Linked DNA regions of Homo sapiens: regions 2, 3 and 4 are each linked to region 1. The links are contacts of gene promoters, found by promoter capture Hi-C in human tissues and cell types (Jung and others, 2019). All regions are on one chromosome and are shown on one strand. The core of a region is centred on a gene start or on the middle of the fragment in contact, and the rest is flanking DNA. Distances in the headings are between cores, read along the strand shown. Region 1 holds the start of OR1I1 (olfactory receptor family 1 subfamily I member 1). Region 2 has its middle 37 kb from the start of CYP4F8. Region 3 holds the start of AKAP8L (A-kinase anchoring protein 8 like). Region 4 holds the start of AKAP8 (A-kinase anchoring protein 8).

Region 1 (5,241 bases), core at 2,006-4,505:
CACATTTACCTGTGTAACAAATCTGCACATCCTGCACATGTACCCTGGAACATAAAAACATAATAATATTTTGAAAAAACTCTATCAAAAAATAAATAAATAGGATTCTGCTATTTATTCTGCTCTAAAGACCCATGCACATGTATGTTTATTGCAGCACTATTCACAATAGCAAAGACTTAGAACCAACCCAAATGCCCATCAGTGATAGACTGGATAAAGAAAATGTGGCACATACACACCATGGAATACTCTCCAGCCATAAAAAACAATGAGTTCATGTCCTTTGCAGGAAAATGGATGAAGCTGGAAACCATCATTCTCAGCAAACTAACACAGGAACAGAAAACCAAACACCACATGTTCTCACTCATAAGTGGGAGTTGAACAATGAGAACACATGGACACAGGGAAGGGAACATCACACACCACGGCCTGTCAGGTGGTGTGGGGCAAGGGAAGGAAGAGCATTAGGACAAATATCTAATGCACGCAGGGCTTAAAACCTAGATGATGGGTTGATAGGTGCAGCAAACCACCATGGCACATGTATACTTACGTAACAAACCTGCACGTTCAGCACATGTATCCCAGAACTTAAATTAAAATAATAAATAACTAAGTACATATAAAAATTTAAAAGACTGTCCGTTCTACTTGACCACTGCCACATCAGGAGCCCTTGACCCTTGCCAGAATTCAGGAATCCCCATCTCTCCTAGATTCTAATCAAGGAAGAAAATCAGGGACTATATAAAAACCTTTTAGGTGTTGGATTTTAAAAAAAGCATTTGTGCTTGGAAGAATGGGTGGAGAGTGGCTGAAGCCCAAGATGCTGAGAGAAGAAATCTGGACCTCACTCCTAGAGAGGATAGAATGAAGTAGACCACCCCCTTCTTCCTCCCTCCCAATGTTCATTGATGGTTTCCTGGTACCAGACTCATTGCCACATAAAGACTCTAAGATTTTCCCAAAGCAATCAGCACTGGACTCCAAACCAACATGACTAGAAAACTGGACTCTGGGAGTGTATAACTGGCCCTGCCTTATACCAATTTCCCAGGGGGGGAAATGTTATTTTTGATAACATTTTCTATAGAGTCATATCAAAAAGAAAGGCTTTTTTCTTCCTGAATATATCTTTTATTCCTCCTTATCTCTCTTCACTCTTCCTTCTATAACTGGTTTCAGAATTCCCAGGAGAGTTCGGATGGGAGACACCAATGTCCTACCTACCATGGCTTTGGGCAAAATAATTTTTTTTCAGAACCACGGACAGTGGCAAAAGTTTGTTCACCCAGTGGGACTTTTTTTTTTTTTTTTTTTTGAGATGGAGTCTTGCTCTGTCACCCAGGCTGGAGTGCAGTGGCACAATCTCGGCTCACTGCAATCTTCGCCTCCCAGGTTCAAGTGATTCTCCTGCCTCAGCCTCCCAAGTAGCTAGGATTACAGATGCCCACCCACCATGCCCAGCTAATTTTTGTACTTTTAGTAGAGACTGGGTTTCACCATTTTTCCCAGGCTGGTCTCGAACTCCCGACCTCAAGTGATCCACCCGCCTCAGCCTCCCAAAGTGCTGGGATTACAGGTGTGAGCCACCATGTCTGGCCACCTTATGGACTTTTTAGGTGGGTTTTTCCCCAACCTTTGGGCTCAAATTGATTTTTTTTTTTTTTTTGAGACAAGGTCTCACTCTGTCACCCAGGCTGGAGTGCAGTGGCATGATCTCAACTTGCTGCAAACTTCACCTCCCGGGCTCAAGGGATCCTCCCACCTCAGCCTCCTGAGTAGTTGGGACTATAGGCACGTCCAGCTAATTTTGTATTTTTAGTAGAGACAGGGTTTCACCATGTTGGCCGGGCTGGTCTCAAACTCCTGAGCTAAATTGATCCACCTGCCTCGGCCTCCCAAAGTGCTAGGATTACAGGTGTGAACCACCATGCCCAGCCTCTGAAAATAATTTTAATTTTAAAAAAATAATGACAGTGGGATTGGCACCTACTCATATCCCCATATGTCCAACGCGAAGTTGGTCTACCTTGTTCTTGCTTTGAAGCTGACCTCCCCACAGAGTTACGATCCAAGAGCCAACAGTCCAACAGCCAATATTATTAGGGAAAGTAATTCTAATATTTACTAAAGCCCCTAGGAGAATTTCAACAAGTATCCTACACACGTTCTGTGTGGCTGATAGGAAGGATTTTTTTTTTAAGAGACAGGGTCTCACTCCGTTGTCCAGGTTGGAATGCAGTGGTGCGATCACAGCTCACTGCAGCCTCAACCTCCAGGGCTCAAGTGATCCTCCCACCTCAGCCTCCTGGGTAACTGAGACCACGGGCATGTGCCACCAATCCTGGCTAATTTTTTTAAATTTTTTGTAGATATAAGGTCTTGCTGTTTTGCCCAAGCTGGTCTCAAACTTCTAGGCTCAAGGGATTCTCCAACCTTGGCCTCCCAAGTAGCTAGGATTATAGGCATGAGCCACCGTGTCCAACTCCAGTGCCAAGCAGGTGATCAAGAAGTGTTTGATAGGCCGGGTACAGTGGCTCAGGCCTGTAATCCCAGCACTTTGGGAGACCGAGGAGAGCAGATCACTTGAGGTTTGAGATCAGTCTTTCCAACATGGTGAAACCCTGTCTCTACTAAAAATACAAAGACTAGCTGGGCATGGTGGTGGGCACCAGTAATTCCAGCTACTCAAGAGGCTGAGGAGGGAGAATTGCTAGAACCCAGGAGGTGGAGGTTGCAGTGAGCCGAGATTGCTCCACTGTGCTCCAGGCTGGGTGAAAGAGTGACACTCCATCTCAAAAAAAAGTGTTTGATAAATTTATTTATTTAATACCGATTTATTGATTGATTGATACTCTTCGGAGCTTTCCTTAATGAGCCAGTTTCTTCCATAATGCAATGAATGAAAGGACCTCTCAGATTCAGGCATCTGAGTGCCCGACTGGAGTCTGGGACCCCCCAGACCTCTCTGCCTGGGAGCTTCCATGAAGCTCAGCCTGAGCTGGAAGGAGACCGTAGGGAGATGTCCTAGTGAGAGTGAATCCCTAGTCACTGTTTCCTCTTCTTACCCACTCGATGATCCCAAAGCACACCCATCTCCAAAAGAACAGGTCACATGTGGCAGAGGAGAAACAAAATAATTAGCATCCGCTTCCTTAACAAGGAGCTATGGGGACGAAGTCTCCTAGAGTCCCCAGACTATAAATACCCTGATGTTCCCCTGGCTCCCCCACTCACCTGCAGAGTCTGGGGGCGGGGGGGTACACATATGAATCCTTCCCATAGACATCAGGCTAACCCCAGCGATCACAGGTGAGTAGCCCCCATGCCCTTCCTAGGGGTTTAGTGCTGACCTCGGGATCCTCTAGCAGTTGGTGGAGAAGGAGGCTTCCCGGGACCCTCCCCTTGGTGATGCCATCCTGGTGAGCAGGTGAGGGATGGGGAAAGGATTGAGCTGAGGGTGGGGGTGGAGGGTTGTGGGAGAGGAATCTGTCTCCTTCCTAGAGGCCGAGAGAGAGAGAAGAGACTGAGACCAAGTCTAGACTCTCTGAGTGGACAAAGCACGCAGACGGCAGACCCTCTGTGGCAGGATATGTGGAGGAAAAGCACTGAGGGTCTGCAGCTGCAGGACACCTGCACAGATAGGAGAGGTCTTGAGAAACAAGTTTCTCCAATGCAGCAGCTCCCCAAGTGTGGTCCCTGGGCTAGAAGCACCAGCATCCTCTGGAAACTATCTAGAAGTGCTGGTTCTTACACCAGACATTTCAGGGAAAGGGCTTAGCTTTTTGTGTATGATGAGTTTGGGAGCGGGGGGGAGGGGGCGGGGGGATTGTTTTGTTTGTTTGTTTGTTCTTTCTGTTTTTGAGACAGGGTCTCGCTCTGTTGCCCAGTCTGGAGTGCAGTGGCATTATCATAGCTCATCGCAGCCTCGACCTCCCAAGCTCAAGTGATCCTCCCTCCTCAGCCTCCCGGGTACCTGGGATAACAGACATATACCACCATGCCTGGCTAATTTTATTTTCGTAGAGGCAGGGATCTTCCTATGTTGCCCAGGATGGTCTCACACTCCCGGGCTCAAGAGATCCTCCTACCTTGGCCCCCCAAGCAGCTGGGACTAACAGGTGTGTGCCACCATGTCCAGCTAATTTTTTATTTTGTAGAGATGGGGGTCTCACTGTGTTGCCCAGGTTGGTCTCTAACTCCTGGACTCAAGGGATTCTCCCACCTCAGCCTTCTGAGTAGCTGGGACTATGGAAGCATGCCACCATGCCCAGCAGATTGTTTTATTTTTTGTAGATCCAGGGCGGGATTGGGGGTGGGGTGGCCTCACTTTGTCTGCCAGGCTGGTCTTGAACTCCTGGCCTCAAGCAATTCTCCCACTTCAGCCTCCCAAAGTGCTGGGATTACAGGTGTGAGCCACCATGCCTGGCCCGCTTTTTGTGTTTTAACAAGCCTTCCAGGTGACCCTGAAGCGTGCTCAAGGTTGAGAACCGCTGCTCTATGCAACCCAAGTCAACAACTGAGGACTGTTACAAATATGTTGCCAGGAAGGGAATCGCAGTATTCTATCCAGCCTAGAGAAAACCAAGCATTGCATTGCAAAAACCTCAAGTCCAACACTAAAAAGCCTCAAAAAGTTAACATAGGGCTTTGCTGAAGGCCTCTTGGGGTTACCAAGGAGATTATGCTGCTAACCTTCCTAAAAACCCCTTTCATCGGCTGGGCGCTGAAATGATGAGATTACTGGGCTCACGCCTGTAATCTCAGTACTTTGGGAGGCCAAGGTGGGCGGATCACCGGGTCAGGAGTTCAAGACCAGCCTGGCCAACAGGCTTAGTAGAGGCGAAACCCCGTCTCTACTAAAAATACAAAAATTAATCGGGCGTGGTGATGCACACCTGTAATCCCAGCTATTCGGGTGGCTGAGGCACAAGAATCACTTGAACCCAGGAGACGGATGTTGCAGTGAGCCGAGATCGTGCCACTGTACTCTAGCCTAGGTGACAGAGTGAGACTCTGTCTCGAAAAGAAACACGTGTAAATGCTTGTAATTGAATATTTTTCCCTTGCACGTGTTGACAGCACAGAATTTAGCTTCGAAATGCCTCATAAAGAGGTGAGAGTGGCCATTCTTAGGGAGGCAGTGGAGTATGAGAGTGAAAATAAGTCTAAATTCAAAGGCGAGATCAGGCACTTGCAAGCTGAGTGCCCCTGGCAGCTCGCTCAGCCCCA
Region 2 (5,241 bases), core at 979-3,478, 500 kb after region 1:
TTGGCCATGGACCCACAGGAGTAGGTTATGGAGAGAGGACTGATCAGGGCATCTGAAGTGTCTTCTTGGAGAAAATGAGTCAGAATTGAGCATGGAAGTACAGGGAAGGGGAGAGAGAAAGATCAGTTCTCCAGGTAGGTAGAAGTGTTTGGGTAATGGCAAGGAGGCTAGGATGAGCAGAGCACGTGCAATGGCCATCAAGGGGACACCTTGGAAATGAGATTGGAGGGGTCAGCAGTAGCTACAACTTAATGACATTGAAAAGCCATGCAAAGGGGTATGAACTTCATCCAAGGCTCCCAGGGAATCATGGGAGGTATTTGAGAAGATGAGGGTCATGGTCAGTGCTGAGCTTGGACGTTTGACTCTGTGGAAGATTGACTGTTATGTAGACAGAGGAAGCAAGGAGACCATGGAGAGGAAGAGGCCTGAGCTTGGTGGAGAAAAAGGGGCAGATTTGAGAGAAACCAAGGAGAAATAGGCAGGAGCAGATGTTGTGTAAGATGCCCATGATGGCCAAGCTGTGCCCTGGGGCATCTGGGGCAGGAGGCAGCTCACAGAGAGTGGGAGGCAGAGAGTGAAGTGTGCTTGCAGGGCACCCTTTTCTGCACCGAACGTGGTCCTGGGATTCTGGCTAGAAGGTGCTCCCAGGCTTTCATGTGTGTTTAGAAGCTGCTTCCTCTTCCTGGCCTGACCCTGCGGGAAGCCCAGCGAATATATTGATGCCATCTTGGAGCTCAGTGCCCTCAGTCTGAAACGGCACCAGCACATCTTCCTGCTCACGGACTTCTTGTACTTCCTCACTCCCAATGGGCGACGCTTCTGCAGGGCCTGTGACATAGTGCACAACTTCACAGATGCTGTCATCCAGGAGCGGCGTCGCACCCTCACTAGCCAGGGTGTCGATGACTTCCTGCAGGCCAAGGCCAAGTCCAAGACTTTGGACTTCATTGACGTGCTCTTGCTGGCCAAGGTGGGCTACTCTGGGATCTGAATTTCAGAAGTAGAATGGACTTTGACGTGAAATGTCAGATCCATGAACTTGGACTTGATCCAGAGGGCACTGGGGAGCCATGGAAGGTGCTTGAGGAAAGGAGGGACAAGTAAGATATATTTTAGAGGTGACTCTGTAGAAGAGTTCCTAGAAGGAGCAAACAGGAGGCAAGAGACTGGGAAAGAGTCCTGCTAGGCAGGTCTAATGATGATAAGGGAGGAATCTTGCCTGGAATATGGATCTTCATGAACTGTTTTAGGTTAGACTCAGGTGCCTTCATGGCTGGTGTAATTTAGAGGTCTTGTCTTGTCTCCAGGATGAAAATGGAAAGAAGTTGTCAGATGAGAACATAAGAGCGGAGGCTGACACCTTCATGTCTGGGGGTGAGGGTCCCAGGGTGTGATGTCACTAGGGGTAGGAGTGTCTCCATTCCAGGGATGTGGTGAGTGGACCCTGGATCACCCCATCCCATCTTCCTTCCCCACTTCCTTCTGAGGGCCTCAATACATGGGTGCTGTCCACCCTTGGGTGCTGAAGCAGCCCAGAGACCCAAGCTTACCTGGCTGCCCCTCAGGCCATGACACCTCGGCCAGTGGTCTCTCCTGGGTCCTGTACAACCTCGCGAGGTACCCAGAATACCAGGAGCACTGCCGACAGGAGGTGCAAGAGCTCCTGAAGAACGGTGATCCTAAAGAGATTGAATGGTGAGTGTGCAGGTCCTCATGACCTGTTCCTGAGTCCCTCTCATTGGTTTAGCTCTTCAGGTGGGAAAGGGAGAAGGTCTTATTGGTGATTGTGCTATTACTGCCTAGTGGGAATTGGTGCAGAGCTCAGAAACAGGGCCTGGTACTCAGCCTGGAGCAAAGGAAATGTTGCAGGATTTTTGCCTTTACTATCTATTGCAATTAAACTCATTCAATTATTTTTTCTTTTTTGTTACTTCTTTCTTTTTTCTTTTCTTTTTTTTTTTTTTTGAGACAGTCTCACTGTGTCATCCAGGCTGGAGTGCAGTGGCATAATCTCTGCTCACTGCAACCTCTGCCTCCTGAGTTCAGGTGATTCTCCTGCCTCAGCTTCCTGAGGACCTGTGATTGCAGGCATCCGCCACTATGCCCAGCTAATTTTTGTATTTTTAATAGAGACGGGGTTTCACCATGTTGGCCAGGCTGGTCTCGAACTCCAGACCTCAGGGGATTCGCCTACCTCAGCCTACCAAAGTGCTGGGATTACAGGTGTGAGCCACAGCGCCTGGCCAAACCTATTCAGTTCTAATAGATATTGCCGAATTGCCTTTTAGAGTCTCTGCACTGATTAACTCTCCAGTGTGTTGTAGAACTAGTTCTCTTTGTTTCCTCCTTTTTGATAGCTGCATAGTGTTCTCTCATAAGGATGTACTGTAATTCATCAAAACATTTCTCCATTGATGGATATTTGTGTGCTTTCCAGGCTTTTGCTATAACTAACATGATGTAGTGGGCACCCATGTACACTGACCATTGCTTACATCTGTGAGCAGCTTTGCAGTACCAATTCTGAGAAGTGCAGTTGGTGAACTGAAGACCATTTGAGATTGACAATTCAATAGCTCCTACACACACATTTTGAGAATGCCTTCCTCACATTCTCCCCTAAAGTGTCTATTATGAAACTTTAAAACATTTGCCAATCTGATAGATGCAACATAATACTTCAATGAACATCACTTTAAGCCTGGGTAAAGTTGAGCATTGTTTTCACTTACTGACCATGGGTATTTCTTATTCTGTGAAGTGTTTGCACAATTTGTTCCTTCTAGTTTGGGTTTTGTAGTTTTTTTCTTATTGATTTATAAGCACTGCTCACAGATTAAGAAAACTAGTTCTTTTTTTCTGTTTTGCAAAGTTCTTTTTCAGATTGTCTTTGAATTAATTGTTGGTTTTCATTCATTTATTTTGGCTTGATTAATTTATTTGCAGTCAAATTCTTTCCTTTATACGTGCCGTTTTTTGTTTTTTTTATTATTTTTATTATTTTTTTTTTGAGACAGAGTCTTGCTCTGTCACCCAGGCTGGACAGCAGTGGCACCATCTCAGCTCACTGCAACCTCCGCCTCCCGAGTTCAAGTGATTCTCCTCCTCAGCCTCTCAAGTAGCTGGGATTACAAGTGTCCACCACTATGCCCAGCTAATTTTTGTATTTTTAGTAGAGATGGGGTTTCACCATGTTGGCCAGGCCTCAGGTGATCCACCTACCTTGGCCTCCCAGAGTGCTGGGATTACAGGCGTGAGCCACTGCGCCTGGCCATGTTTTTGTTTTTTTAAATCATGCATGGGACATTCTTTCATGCTCTAAAATTAAAATGTAAAACTCATGTTTGTTTTCCTCTGATGGGTTTATTTGTTTTTAAAATATTTTATTTATTATTTTAGTTTAAAAATATTTATTACTTTTTTCTCTATGAAGTCTATGATAGTATAAGAATTGTTGTAGGAATGTATTCATTTTCCTCCAAATGGCTAGTTGCCCCAACAGAATTTAATGAATATTTTGTATTTGTCTTACGATTTTAAATAACAGCAGATTCACAATAAGTGAAATTTATTTATATATTTGGGTCTGTTTCTTGGGCTTTATTCTGTTCCACTTAATTTTATTTATTTATTTATTTATTTATTTATTTTATTTTTTTTTTTTGAGACAGAATCTTGCTCTGTCGCCCAGGCTGGAGTGCAGTGGTGTGATCTTAGCTCATTGTAACTTCCATCTCCTGGGTTCAAGCGATTCTCCTGCCTCAGCCTCCCGACTAACTGGGACTAGAGGTGCACATCACCACACCCGGCTAATTTTTGTATTTTTAGTAGAGACAGGGTTTCACCATGTTGGCCAGGCTGGTCTCAAATTTCTGATCTCAAGTGATCCGCCCAACTCGGCTTCCCAAAATGCTGGGGTTCCAGGCGTGAGCCACCACGCCTGGCCCAGTTAATTATATAGTCATACATAAGCATCAAGATGTCTTCATCATTATACTTTAAATAACACTTTCATATTTGATAAAGGTGATCCTATTTTATTACTTTGCTTTTACAAGTTTTTCTTTTTTTCTTTTCTTTTCTTTTTTTTTTTTTTTTGAGATGGAACCTCGCTCTGTCACCCAGGCTGAAGTGCAGTGGTGCAATCTCTGCCTCCTGAGTTCGGCTCACTGCAACCTCTGCCTCCTGAGTTCAAACTATTCTCCTGCCTCAGCCTCCTGAGTAGTTGGGATTACAGGTGCCCACCACCACGCCCGGCTAATTTTTTTGTATTTTTAGTAGAGACAGGGTTTCACCATGTTGGCCAGGCTGGTCTCGATCTCCTGATCTCAGGTGATCTGCCTGCCTCGGCCTCCCAAAGTGCTGGAATTACAGGTGTGAGCCACTGCACCTGACCTGAGCACCTCTTCTTATTGTCCCACTTATGCCTAGTGTTCCATTATTGGAATGCTAAGCATGTGGGAGTTATTCATATTCTACTGCTCCAGGTCATTGCCAAGGTCTGATTTTCAAAATTCAAAAAATTGAAACCTCAGGCATAAATGGGTTAAATCTCTTATAGACCTCAGGGCATCCATGATTTCTTAGATCATATTCTTTTCTACTTTTCTCTTGGGTCACCTGTTCTTTCTCTTGTTATTTTGCAGGAATTCCTTGTATTCTAGATATTGTAGAAACCTTTGAATCTCTCATCTGAATGTTCATTTGGTCCATGGTATCCTGTGTTACACATAATTCCTTAATTTTCATGCATATTTATCCTTTTTCTTTTTGATCTTCTACTTTGTCCTTTCGAGGTTTTAAGAATTCCCACCCTTAAGTCACAAAAGTGTTTCTTCTGTTATCTTCTCTTAACTTTATAGCTTTATTCATCTCATATAGGAAGAGATTCCATCCTGTATATGAAGTAGACAAGGATCTGGTTTTTTTGTTCCCAAATTTCCAATTGTTTGAACATCTTCCTCCAAATCATCTATCAATTGCCCAGGGGTGTGTGGGCCCCTCTTTACCAGAAGTTGTTAAATTTTCACCTATTCCTGTGCCTGACTGCAAGCTCTCTTCTCTCTTCCTCTGGTCCGTTTTCCTGTTCTTGTAGCAGTACCAGTCTTTTCTTTTCGTTTCTTTTCTTTTCCTTTCTTTCCTTTTCCCTCCTTCCCTCCATCTTTCTTTCTTTCCTTCCTTCTTTCTTTCTTTCCTTCTTTCTTTCTTTCTTCCCTCCCTCCTTCTCTCTTTCTTCCC
Region 3 (5,241 bases), core at 1,967-4,466, 340 kb after region 1:
GCTACTTGGGAGGCGGAGGCAGGAGAATGGCATGAACCTGGGAGGCGGAGCTTGCAGTGGGCCGAGATGGCGCCACTGCACTCCAGCCTGGGTGACAGAGCAAGACTCCGTCTCAAAAAAAAAAACAAAAAAAAAATCCCAGAGTCTCGCTGTCATCCAGGCTGGAGCACAGTGGCACAATCATGGCTCACTGCAGCCTCAACCTCGCAGAGCTAACTTTTTTATTTTTAATTTTTATAGAGAAAGGGTCTTGCTATGTTGCCCAGGCTCATCTCAAACTCCTGGCCTCAAGCAATCTTCCTGCCTCGGCCTCCCAAAGTGTTGTGATTACAAGTGTGAGCCACCGTGCCTGATCTAAAAAAAAAAAAGAGTCTTATTTGAAGGAGTAACACAGAGTACCAAAAATTAAAAGATAACTGGAATTAGGTTAGGTTGCCTTCAATCTTTATTATCTGAGCCAAGAGTAGGGTGACAACCATCCTCAAAGATGGTCTCCATTCCTGCCTCTTAACGTTATGTAGATCCCTCCCAACTAATAGAGCTAGCCAGTGCAACCAATAAGATTTATGAAAATGACTGAGTGTGACTTCTGGGATTTTCGCCTTGCTCTTTCTGGGATCATTCAGTCTGGAGAAAACCAGCCACCATGTTGTGAGGATACTCCAGCAGCCAGCCCTAGGGAGAGATCCATGGGGCCAAGAATTATTGGCCAGCATCAGCCTGCCAGGCATGGGAGTTTAAGTCACCTTGGAGGTGGGACCTCCAGCCTCAGTCAGGCTTTCAGATGACTCTAGTCCACATAGAGATCCTAAATGTAACCTCATGATATTCCAAGCTAGAACCACCCAGTGAAATCACCTATCCATTCCAAACATAAAGAAACTGTGTGAGACAATAAATGTTTCTATGACAAGTACAGTAGCATTTCAGACCTTTGTTTGAGGGCCTGATTCTGGATATTTCTGTGCTGTTTACCACTGCTCTCCTCTTCCCCTCTCAGTGCTAGAGATGCAGCTTCCTTTCCCACGTATAAATAAGGTAACAGGGTTCAAAAGCAGGGCGAGTTAATAAAAAGATTTATCAGTCACCTTTTATGTTTAATAATGCTAACATTTGCTTCGAGGCCTCTAGGACTTACCCTTAAAGCTATTAGTTGTCTGAAATGTGAATTAAAATGCCTTTGACTTTAGTGCCCTACTTCTTAAATAAGGGGAAGACTCACATTGTAAATTACTGTGGTTTTCAGTTTATCAAGATAAAGGAAAAACTAATCATTACTTTTTTAGCTTGGCTATCTCAGTGCCCACCCAAACCCAGAACTACAGCCTACAAGACCTAGAGCTGGAATTCAGGTTTGGTCATTAGTGACCTTGTATCTCAGTTTCCTCATCTATTAAAAAAAAGAGCTCCATTACTCAGCTACCCCACAGCACCCAACCATTCATCTTCTGGTTTCTTCAAGAGTCCTGTTTTTAAAAACCATGAAACTGTCTTCCAGTTCTTGGTAAGACTTGGTGAGAATTATATTCCAATCCCAGGGATGTCAGTAACAACCCCATAGTCTTTCCTCCTGAACTAGGAAAGCTACAGAAAGGCTCTGGCAGAGCTGCCCAACTTGGGCACTACTGATGTTTGACGCCAGATACTTCTTTGCGGTAGGTGTCATTGTGTATACCGTAGCAGGGCAGCATCCCAAACCTCCATCCACTAGATACCAGCAGCACTCCCACTCCCATATGTGACAACCAAAAATGTCTCCAGACATTGCCAGATGTCATCTGGGGCAGAATCACCCCTGGATGAGAACCCACTGGGCTGGGGGATGGTTGCTAGAAAAACTGGGGTTCTTGGAAAGCTCCTGACCTGGCAGCCAGGGTAGAGGGGACTGGCACTACCTTCTTGCCTATGCCAACATAAAGTGGTCTACAAAGGAGCCCCACAGACTCACGTTGCATTCTCAGTTCTCAAAATTCCAAGTAGAATGCAGGTTACCTGGCAACCACACACGCTCAAGCCTATAATACCCTCACCAAACAGGGAGGCCTAGTGTAAGTCTCCTGGCCGAGAAGCCTCATCAGTCACTGCCAAGGCAAACCCAGGAGGCCTTGGCAATTCACCCAGTGATGATTTACAGTCGCCCAAGCATATTGCGGGGGGCGGAGAGGGGCTCTCGGATCTGTCACCCACTCTCCCTTTCAAATCCCATTGGCCTCCCACTGGCCTCCCTGGCTGATCTTCTAACAAGCCAGGCAGTTCCTGCCCGTAAGCCTTTTACAGCAAAAGCTCCCTGGGCCAGATATCTTTATTCGCTCCCTCCATTTAGGTCTCTGCTCAAATGTCACCTCTTTACAGAAGGCTCCAACCACTCCACGTAGTGGAGCGACCCCCGCACGGTACTGACCACCCTAAAATATATCCTACACTCGCTTATTTGCCTATTAAGATCCTCGCCTCTAAGCTGCTTGAGGAATTCTTGTCTGTATTCCCAATACCCAGTCTGTACCGGACACGGTTCATTTGACAGACGCAGAGGGAATTAACATGGAACCTTGTCATTCCTTGCAGTTCAGCCCCTAGGGGCCCAAGGCTCCCCGCTCAGCCCAAACCCTTCCAATATTTACTTATCCCCCTAGGGCCTGGCGCCTTTCCCAGTTCTGAAATAGACAAAAGGGGGTGGTGGGTGGGATCGGGATGGGGGTGTAGAGCTGCGGCGTTTTTGCAGAGAAACTGCGCGGGGGAGGACGCGACAATGGCGACGGCAGCCGAGCCTGCTGCCTGCTCGCAAGGACCAAGGCCTGAGAAAGGGAAACCTAAGGCGTCGAGGTCCAGGAGCGCAGGCCAGGGACGGAGGTGGTGGGGGCGGAGACCTCGTGCGCTGAGGCCCGGACCCACGGACACAGGCGACAGAAGCCAAGACATCAGGCGGCCGGGAGCCGGGACGCCGGCTGCAGACACAGAGAGCTGAGGCAACGAGGCGTGAGGGCAGCGACCCTGAGGCGACGGGCCAGCGGCGCCATTTTGTGACCGCAGGGAAGGCAGTGACGGGGCCCCAGGGGAGGTGCGGGCAAGCCTGGTGCGGCATCCGCACGTCCCTGTCCCATCCCCCACGCAGAGCCCGACCCCACCCTGCCAGGCCCACCTGTGTAGCTCATGGTGGCGGGCAACACAACATCCGACGACGCCGGCTTCTGCTGCTCTGAACATCCGACGCTGCGATAGCTGCTGCTAACCACAGGGTCCCCTCCACACACACCCGAGCCCCGCCTCCCGACCGCATTGGCTCATACCGGCCTCGGCTTCACGTCTATTGGAAGGAACCGCTGTCTATCTCTATGCCTCCTCATATCAGTGGCTGGAAGCTGCTGGCAATCTCGTGAGAGCCCCGCCTTGTCCCCGCCTTCTGTTATTCTAAGGCCTCAGTGATTGGCCTACAGAAGCCGGCAGAGAGGCGGAGTCCTATAGAATTTGAGGGGGCGGAGCTGTGCACTACGGAAAGGCCCAAGGCCCAAGCATGGTCGGGCTGGAGGAGCGCCCGTACCCTGGAGACCCGCCAGAGGGAGTCGGGTCTACGGCTCAGGGCAGGGCTGGGATGCCAACTCCGCCACCGAGGTGCTGGGTAGGGGACCTAGCTAAGTCTCTCAAATTCTCTGGCCTTCGGCTCCAAAACAAGCATAGCAAAGCCATGTTGAGAAGAGAAAATTAAAACAGCACCAAACAAGATGCTGGACACACGTTTCAACATTACGTGACAAAGTGTGTGTAAAGAAATCATTCTGGTGCCAGTGCACTGAATAAATGTGATTAATCGTAACAAAACGATAATATATTTATATGGCATATGCTTATATGTGTAATAATTCCGTTTGTATTGTGTGTCATTCGAATGCTCCTTCAAACCTGCAAAAAGCTTTTAATCCTCACTTAAAACTGAAGCTTGGAACTCATGATTTGCTCAAGGTCCTTGACAGTTACGTGTTAAAATGGGAGCTTTGCTTCTAAAACCCTCCTGATTCACTCTGGGCTCGAGAGATCCTGCAATAGTGCAGCCGGGCACCAGTCATGTCCTCAGTCTGTTTCCTGGGCATATGGAAACCCTGCCAGGGACAACTCATAATTTCTAGAGATGACAGAGCTGCACCGAAGAGTACTTAACACGTGTGTTTGTGAAAACTCATTAAGCTGCGCAATTACGACTTCTACGCTTCGTGTGTTTTAAAACTTTTTTTAAGGTATGCTGTTTCTTTTTGATATTGTTGATTTCTTTAGGTGTAATAGTGGCATTTACAACGTTGAGAGAAACATACTGAAATACTAAGAAGTTAACTGATCTTATGGCCAGGATGTGCTTCACACAATTCAGACAGGTAGAGAGAGGAGGAGGAAGCAAGGAGCTATAAGATAAATCTCTGACAGCTGAAGACATTGGTCATGGGTTGGTGATGGATAGATGAGAGTCCATTTTACTGTTTGCTCTACTTTTGTATAGTTGGAATTCTCCATGATAAACTGTTTTAATAAAACTCCCCCCACCCAAATGAGGCTTCTGCAGAACTTGCTGCCATACGGAACAAAGCCACTTCTGATGTGTTAAGTGAGCAAACTCCAAACATGAAGCAGAGATCTGACGGATAAGCACTCTGGCTTCGGGGTTCATCTCCCCATCAGCCTCAGGGATGCCTGCCTGTCTTCCAAACCAAGGCAGGGCCCCAGGACACGTCTTCTGCGCCCTGCAGGTTCGTTCCTTCATCGCACTTGCCACAGTCATCATTGTACCGATTTGATTTCGTTCACATCCAACACCCTCAGAGACCACGGCTCAAAAGCTGAGACTTTGCTGCCTGAGGTGTATTGAAGTGGCTTGAGCAGAGAAGAGCAATGCTCAGAAAGTTTTAGGAAAACATCCCCCTGCAAGAACTGGAGGTGACTCTTCCAAGGACACACATGACCCTCACTTCACTGCATGATTGGTGGGGAGGAACTTGCCATATGACTTTATAAGCTCTTGTATCATTTGACTGTTTTTTGTCACATCTAGCCTATACCACTTTTATATTTCAAAAACTGACTTACGGGCCGGGCATAGTGGCTCACGCCTGTAATCCCAGCACTTTGGGAGGCTGATCACTTGAGCTCAGGAGTTCAAGACCAGCCCGGGCAACATGGTGAAACCCCCGTCTCTACAAAAATTACAGATATAAGCCAGGGGTGGTGGTGCATGCCTGTGATCCCAGCTACCTGGAT
Region 4 (5,241 bases), core at 1,073-3,572, 300 kb after region 1:
TCCTGCCACTTTTTGTTTTTTTGAGGCGGGGTCTTGCTCTGTTGCCCAGGTTAGAGCGCAGTGCCGCGATCTCGGCTCACTGCAAGCTCCGCCTCCTGGGTTCACGCCATTCTCCTGCCTCAGCCTCCCGAGTAGCTGGGACTACAGGCGCCTGCCACCACGCCCGCCTAATTTTTTGTGTTTTTAGTAGAGACGGGGTTTCACCATGTTAGCCAGGATGGTCTCGATCTCCTGACCTCGTGATCCGCCAGCCTCGGCCTCCCAAAGTGCTGGGATTACAGGCGTGAGTCACCGCGCCAGGCCCTTCCTGCCACTTTTAAGGCCTCCACGGATCCCCTGGACCTTTAAGTCCCAGAGCCTTCGCCTGGCCCTAAGGCATCAGACAGCACTCTTCACCCCTCCACACCCCCCGCCCACTATGGCATCTGTCTGGTCCCTCCAGGAAGGAGAATGGGAACTGTGTTCTCTTTATTTCTGTGTCCCTGGGGCCCAGCACTGAGCTGCGCGCGGGTGGCCACCATGCCTGTTAAATGACTTCACTTTGATGAGGCAGGAACATATCCATGTCTCCCTCACCAGAACAACTCCCCCGCCCCCGGCTAAGTGCCTAGTGCGTGCCGATACACCGCAAGCACCCAGCAAACCCTGTTGTCCGGAATGCCATTCAGAGACAAGGGAGCTAGGCTCATGGGTTACGAGACTTGACCCAGTCATACTGCTGAGTTTTGCCCTCTGCTATGCTACGCCTTCCCCTCCGTCATACCGCAAAACCTTCTAAATTCGCATCCGTGCAGCAGAAAGGCAGACTGCAGATTCCAACAGCAAGTAACCAACCTCGAGAGACTGCTTCTCTGTGAAGCTCTAGTGTAAGTGGCACGCACTATTAACCTTAAAACGCTCCCGGAAACACAAGAAATCAGGGAAGCTTAACTATCTCCAGTGTGTCTGAAAGGTTTTCGGCAGGTAGGAAGAGGGGGTAAAAAAAACCTCTCCAAACTAAGAATGAAAAGAAGGAATACAATACCTGCAGAAAAGATCTGATGGGAAAGAAGGGAAAGAATGGTGAAATCTACCCAGGCTGCGGAAGACCAGGAGAGCCAGGCTGAGCCTTCGCTAGGACCCGGAAGACACCAAAGCACACCGCGCACGCTGCCGCCTCAGGACCGAAACCTCTCTCTGCAATTTCTGGTGCTGGGATACTTTTGCCCTGCCACTTCTCAAGATCGACAACTTCTCGAGCTCCTGCAGCCAGGATCAGACCACTAGCTTCTCTACAACCAGTCGAGCTCCACCCAGCATGTCCCAACTATCCCCTGTGGGCAAACTTTGCTCCCAAAAGGCTCTGATTCCAGAAGCAGGGAGCAGGCAGCTCGAGAAGATCGGCCCTACTGCAGGCCAAGCGCTAAATCCTAGTGGGGAAAGGACACGTTCCCTCCTGCACAGCCCCTCGGCCCCTCCAGGCCACCACAACAGACTGCCTAAAGGAGAACTGCCAATGTCACCAGCCCCAGGGCACATCAGGTTTCCAGCTTTATACGAACACTCAGCATCTGCCCCTCACCATCCTGTCCCAAGCCAGCACGCGCCGGGTACAGAGCTGGAGCCCGGCGAGGCTGACTCTCGCGCCGGCAGCACTCGGCCCCACCGCGCTGCACCGGGGACTAAAGGCCCGACCCCGCGCAGCCCGACGGCTTCCGGGACAGGCGCCCTGGGCCACGTGAGCCCAGCGGAGACCCTACACGGCCCCGCGGGCCTAGGGCAGGTCGGGAGAGAGGCGGCCCCCGCGGTCCGCCCGCGGCCCCAGACCCAGCTCCCCGGGTCCGACCTCACAACCCCACGCTGTAGCTCCGCCCCCCTAGCGCCGCCATTTTGTGGCGTCTTCGGAAGAGGAAGCCGGGAGTGCAAACCCCGGGGTCGCTGGGGGCCGGAAGGACTCCGCCGAAGGTGAGGGGCAAAAACGGCCCACACTGTCTAAGACGCCCCCACGAAGCCCACCGCGGCGTCTGCCCCAACCCCGAGTCCCGCCCGCCTCCTCGGGGCCTGGCGGCCAATCCGCACGCAGAGCCCCGGGAGCGACGGCGCCAAAGCCCAATGAGCGGCGCGCGCGCGCCCTGGCCGCCTCTCCGGAGGGCCCAGCTGGGGCAACCACGCTCGGGACGAAGGCCCGGCCGGCGGCAGTCTGCGCAGCGGCTGCGTCGCCCGCACAGAGCCTTCCCTCCCCGCTCCGCACCCAGCAGCCAACACAAACCTCCGTAGCCCTGGTCCATGTCTTCGACGCGGCCCACCAGCAGCCCCGTTTACTAGGCGACCACAGCACGCATGCGTTCAGCGCACCTCCGCCATCGACTACTGGAAGACCAGGCGCACACGTCACTACTTCCGCGCGCCCCCATTGGCTGGTCTTCACGAGGGCCCGCCCTCGCCGTCCCAGCTGGCCTTTCGGGCTGCTACGATCCAGCTCCGTGGCCTAATGGGAGTTGTGGTCCCACCGCGGTGCCCGACGGCCCGGCCCGCGCGCATGCGCACCCCGCCCCTCTGCCCACCCCGCCCCGCCCGCGCGGCACAGTAACAGAGAAACCCGGAGGTGGGATGGGAAAACTTTATTAGGTTTGGTTTCCAGCTTCGGCCACGCGGGCTCCGCCCGCCCCGAGCTCGGGTCACGGGGCGCCCCCGCCGCCCTCCTCGTCGTCCTCCACGTCGAGGCCCGGGATGCCGCGGATCTGGCGTTGCAGCGCCCCTCCCAGCAAGGGCACGGCGCCCTCCTCCTCCTCCTCTGGGGGCGGCGGCGGTGGCGGCGACACGGCCCCGGGGGCTGGCTCTGGGGGCACGGGAGGCTGCGCCGGCACGCCCTCTGCGCCCTCCGAGATCCCTGCCGCTTCGCCCTGCGCCCCCTCGTCCAGGGCACCGCCCTCAGCCTCCTCCTGCTCCTTCTCCTCCTCGGGGCTGTCGGTGAAAGGGTTCTCGCCCTGTGGGGAGGGGCGCGGACACTGAAGGGAGGGAGCACAGGCGGGGACTAAGCTGGGGACAGGGCAGGCCCGGACCAGTGCCTCACCTTCAGGTAGCGCTCCAGCTTCTTGCTGATGAGCTTGTTGTTGAGAATACTGCGGGCCACCATGAGGGAGGACTTCTTGGACTGCTCCATCATGAGCTGCGGGCAGGGCAGAAGGAGCTGGAGAGGCTGCTCTGAGTGCCCTACAAGTTGCTGCCCCGACCCTGCCAGCTTAGAGGGACCCCACCCCGCCCCTGCACCCACGCACTTCCAGCCCCACCAACGGAGGGCCACTCCACAAGCATGGAACCACAACCTATCTGATCTTTGTTCAAATTCCCTCTCCTTCCACACCACACTTACTGTAGGTAAATAAAAATACAGATCTATATATCTCTAACTTTACGGCTGTATTACAGAAATCTGATTTGCTTACAAAAAAGCTATAAGCAGTGAACAATTAAGAAACTAAGAGCCAAAGGTGGGTGCAACCTGTAACAAGGTGCCAACTAGGCTAATAGGCAAGGAGCACTTTGGGGCCAACGGGGAAGATATAAAAACAGGAACAGATATTTAATGAAACGTCTTTTTTAACCCACAGAATTCCAAGAATGAAGAATTATTCCCAGTCATGCAAGGGTGAAGAGAGTCTTCTCTGCTGGTGGGAGGATCAACTGTTTCCGTATTTTTTGGAAAGCAGTTTGACACAATGTATGAAAAGTAAAAATCTGTCTCATTAATCCCTTCCCAGAACGTATCCTAAATTTAAGAACTGGAAACATGCGTGCACACTGATTGTAGTGGTGAAAAATGGGAAAACACCTAAACGTTCCTCAGTGCAGAAGAGGTTAAATAAATCGTACATTCAAAAGAACATCATGCAGCCCTTCAAATCGGGCTCATCTCTGCACTGGCATAAGAAAGGTGTATAATATAGTACTGTCTGCAGAGCATGCCAGAGCCATTTTGTCTGGAAGGATTTCCATCAATATGCTGGGCCATCTCATGGTGGGAGTACAGGCAAATCTCACTTTGATCATTATAAAAACCATAAGGTAAAAGAAGGATATTTTTGGTGGGGTGGGAGAGCCCATTGAGTCCTTCCCACTCCATTTACATGTTTCAGAAAGCCTTCTCACTTGCTGTTTCTACTCTCTCCATCTTCATTTTTTTTTTTCCTTAGCACGTTTTCTCTACTACTGGAGGAAAATATTAACAGACATCATACATGCTCACAATAAACTAAAGATACACAATTAGGATACTACTATAGACCGTTCCCCCAGTGACTCTCACTTGCCAACAGTTTATCCTCCTGGTTCTAGATGCCCAGATAACCACACCATAAATTCTCCCAAGTGAGGCACATTTATGTTGCTTCCAGATCTTCTCCACAATAACCCAGCAACACTAGAATAAACTTGTACACTTCCATGCTGGTGCTTTTCATTCTAACCAGGTTTGGTTTCAAAGTGATAGTGCCCAATTAACTGCAGAACATTTGCAAGTCATGCTTCTTCCACCTGTGTTAAAACAATGACCTGGTCCTCCTGCCTGCCCATCAGCACTGGATGTTGTCACTGTTGGGTATTTTTGCTGTGGATAAAAGACAGAAGAATCTGTGCTGCTGCCTCCCACGGCATTTCCCTGCCCACCGGCGAGTGAGTGCTCTGGTAAGCACACTGGAACACCCGCCCACAGTTTATAATTTTCTAACTATTTTCTGATCTTGGTTTTCATTTTTCACATTTAAATTTTTTTTTTTTTTTTTTAAGACAGTCTCGCTCTGTCGCCCAGGCTGGAGTGCAGGGGCTCTCAGTTCACTGCAACCTCCGCCTCCCAGGTTTAGGCAATTCTCATGCCTCAGCCTCCTGAGTAGCTAGGACTACGGGCACGCACCACCACACCCAGCTACTTTTTTGTATTTTTAGTAGATACAGGGTTTTCCTATGTTGCCCAGACTGGTCTTGAGCTCCTGAGCTCAGGACCTCCACCCATCTCGGCTTCCCAAAGTGCTGTGATTACAGGCGTGAGCCACCACGCCCAGCCAAATTTTCTAGAATTTGATACAGATTGAGTATCCCTTATTCAAAGTGCTTATGACCAGAAGTCTTTCAGATTTTGATTTGCATTATACTTACCAGTTGAGCATCCCTACTCCAAAAACCCAAAATCTGAAATGCTTCAATGAGCATTTACTTTGTCATGTCTGTGCTGAAAAAGTCAGATTTTACTGGGCACAGTGTCTCGTG

The links. The method cuts DNA at HindIII sites, captures the fragments that hold promoters and counts their contacts. A contact is called where the count stands out against the background at its distance.
Region 2: a fragment that was not itself captured here is called in contact with the fragment with the promoter of OR1I1 in region 1 in 1 of the 25 tissues and cell types used here (lymphoblastoid cells).
Region 3: the fragment with the promoter of AKAP8L here is called in contact with the fragment with the promoter of OR1I1 in region 1 in 2 of the 25 tissues and cell types used here (IMR-90 fibroblasts and spleen).
Region 4: the fragment with the promoter of AKAP8 here is called in contact with the fragment with the promoter of OR1I1 in region 1 in 5 of the 25 tissues and cell types used here (IMR-90 fibroblasts, aorta, bladder and 2 more).

Annotation. Positions count from the first base shown.
Region 1 is chr19:15,078,956-15,084,196 of GRCh38, forward strand. It overlaps OR1I1 (olfactory receptor family 1 subfamily I member 1), which reads left to right and starts at 3,256. Exons shown (of 2, transcript NM_001004713.2): 1 at 3,256-3,321. The HindIII fragment of the contact is 16,029 bases long and covers 1,265-5,241 here.
Region 2 is chr19:15,575,863-15,581,103 of GRCh38, forward strand. It overlaps the pseudogene CYP4F23P. Among named protein-coding and RNA genes, the nearest start is that of CYP4F8, 37 kb to the right of the region's middle. The HindIII fragment of the contact is 3,197 bases long and covers 631-3,827 here.
Region 3 is chr19:15,415,772-15,421,012 of GRCh38, forward strand. AKAP8L (A-kinase anchoring protein 8 like) reads right to left here and starts at 3,217. Exons shown (of 14, transcript NM_014371.4): 1 at 3,140-3,217. The coding sequence starts at 3,152. WIZ (WIZ zinc finger) reads right to left here. Exons shown (of 13, transcript NM_001371589.1): 13 at 4,207-5,241. The HindIII fragment of the contact is 22,741 bases long and covers 1-5,241 here.
Region 4 is chr19:15,377,465-15,382,705 of GRCh38, forward strand. AKAP8 (A-kinase anchoring protein 8) reads right to left here and starts at 2,323. Exons shown (of 14, transcript NM_005858.4): 1 at 2,249-2,323. The coding sequence starts at 2,267. It overlaps AKAP8L (A-kinase anchoring protein 8 like), which reads right to left. Exons shown (of 14, transcript NM_014371.4): 13 at 3,053-3,148; 14 at 2,586-2,966. The coding sequence ends at 2,658. RefSeq lists enhancers at 1,464-2,379, 2,314-2,608, 2,380-3,294 and silencers at 1,569-2,118, 2,459-2,948. The HindIII fragment of the contact is 19,214 bases long and covers 1-5,241 here.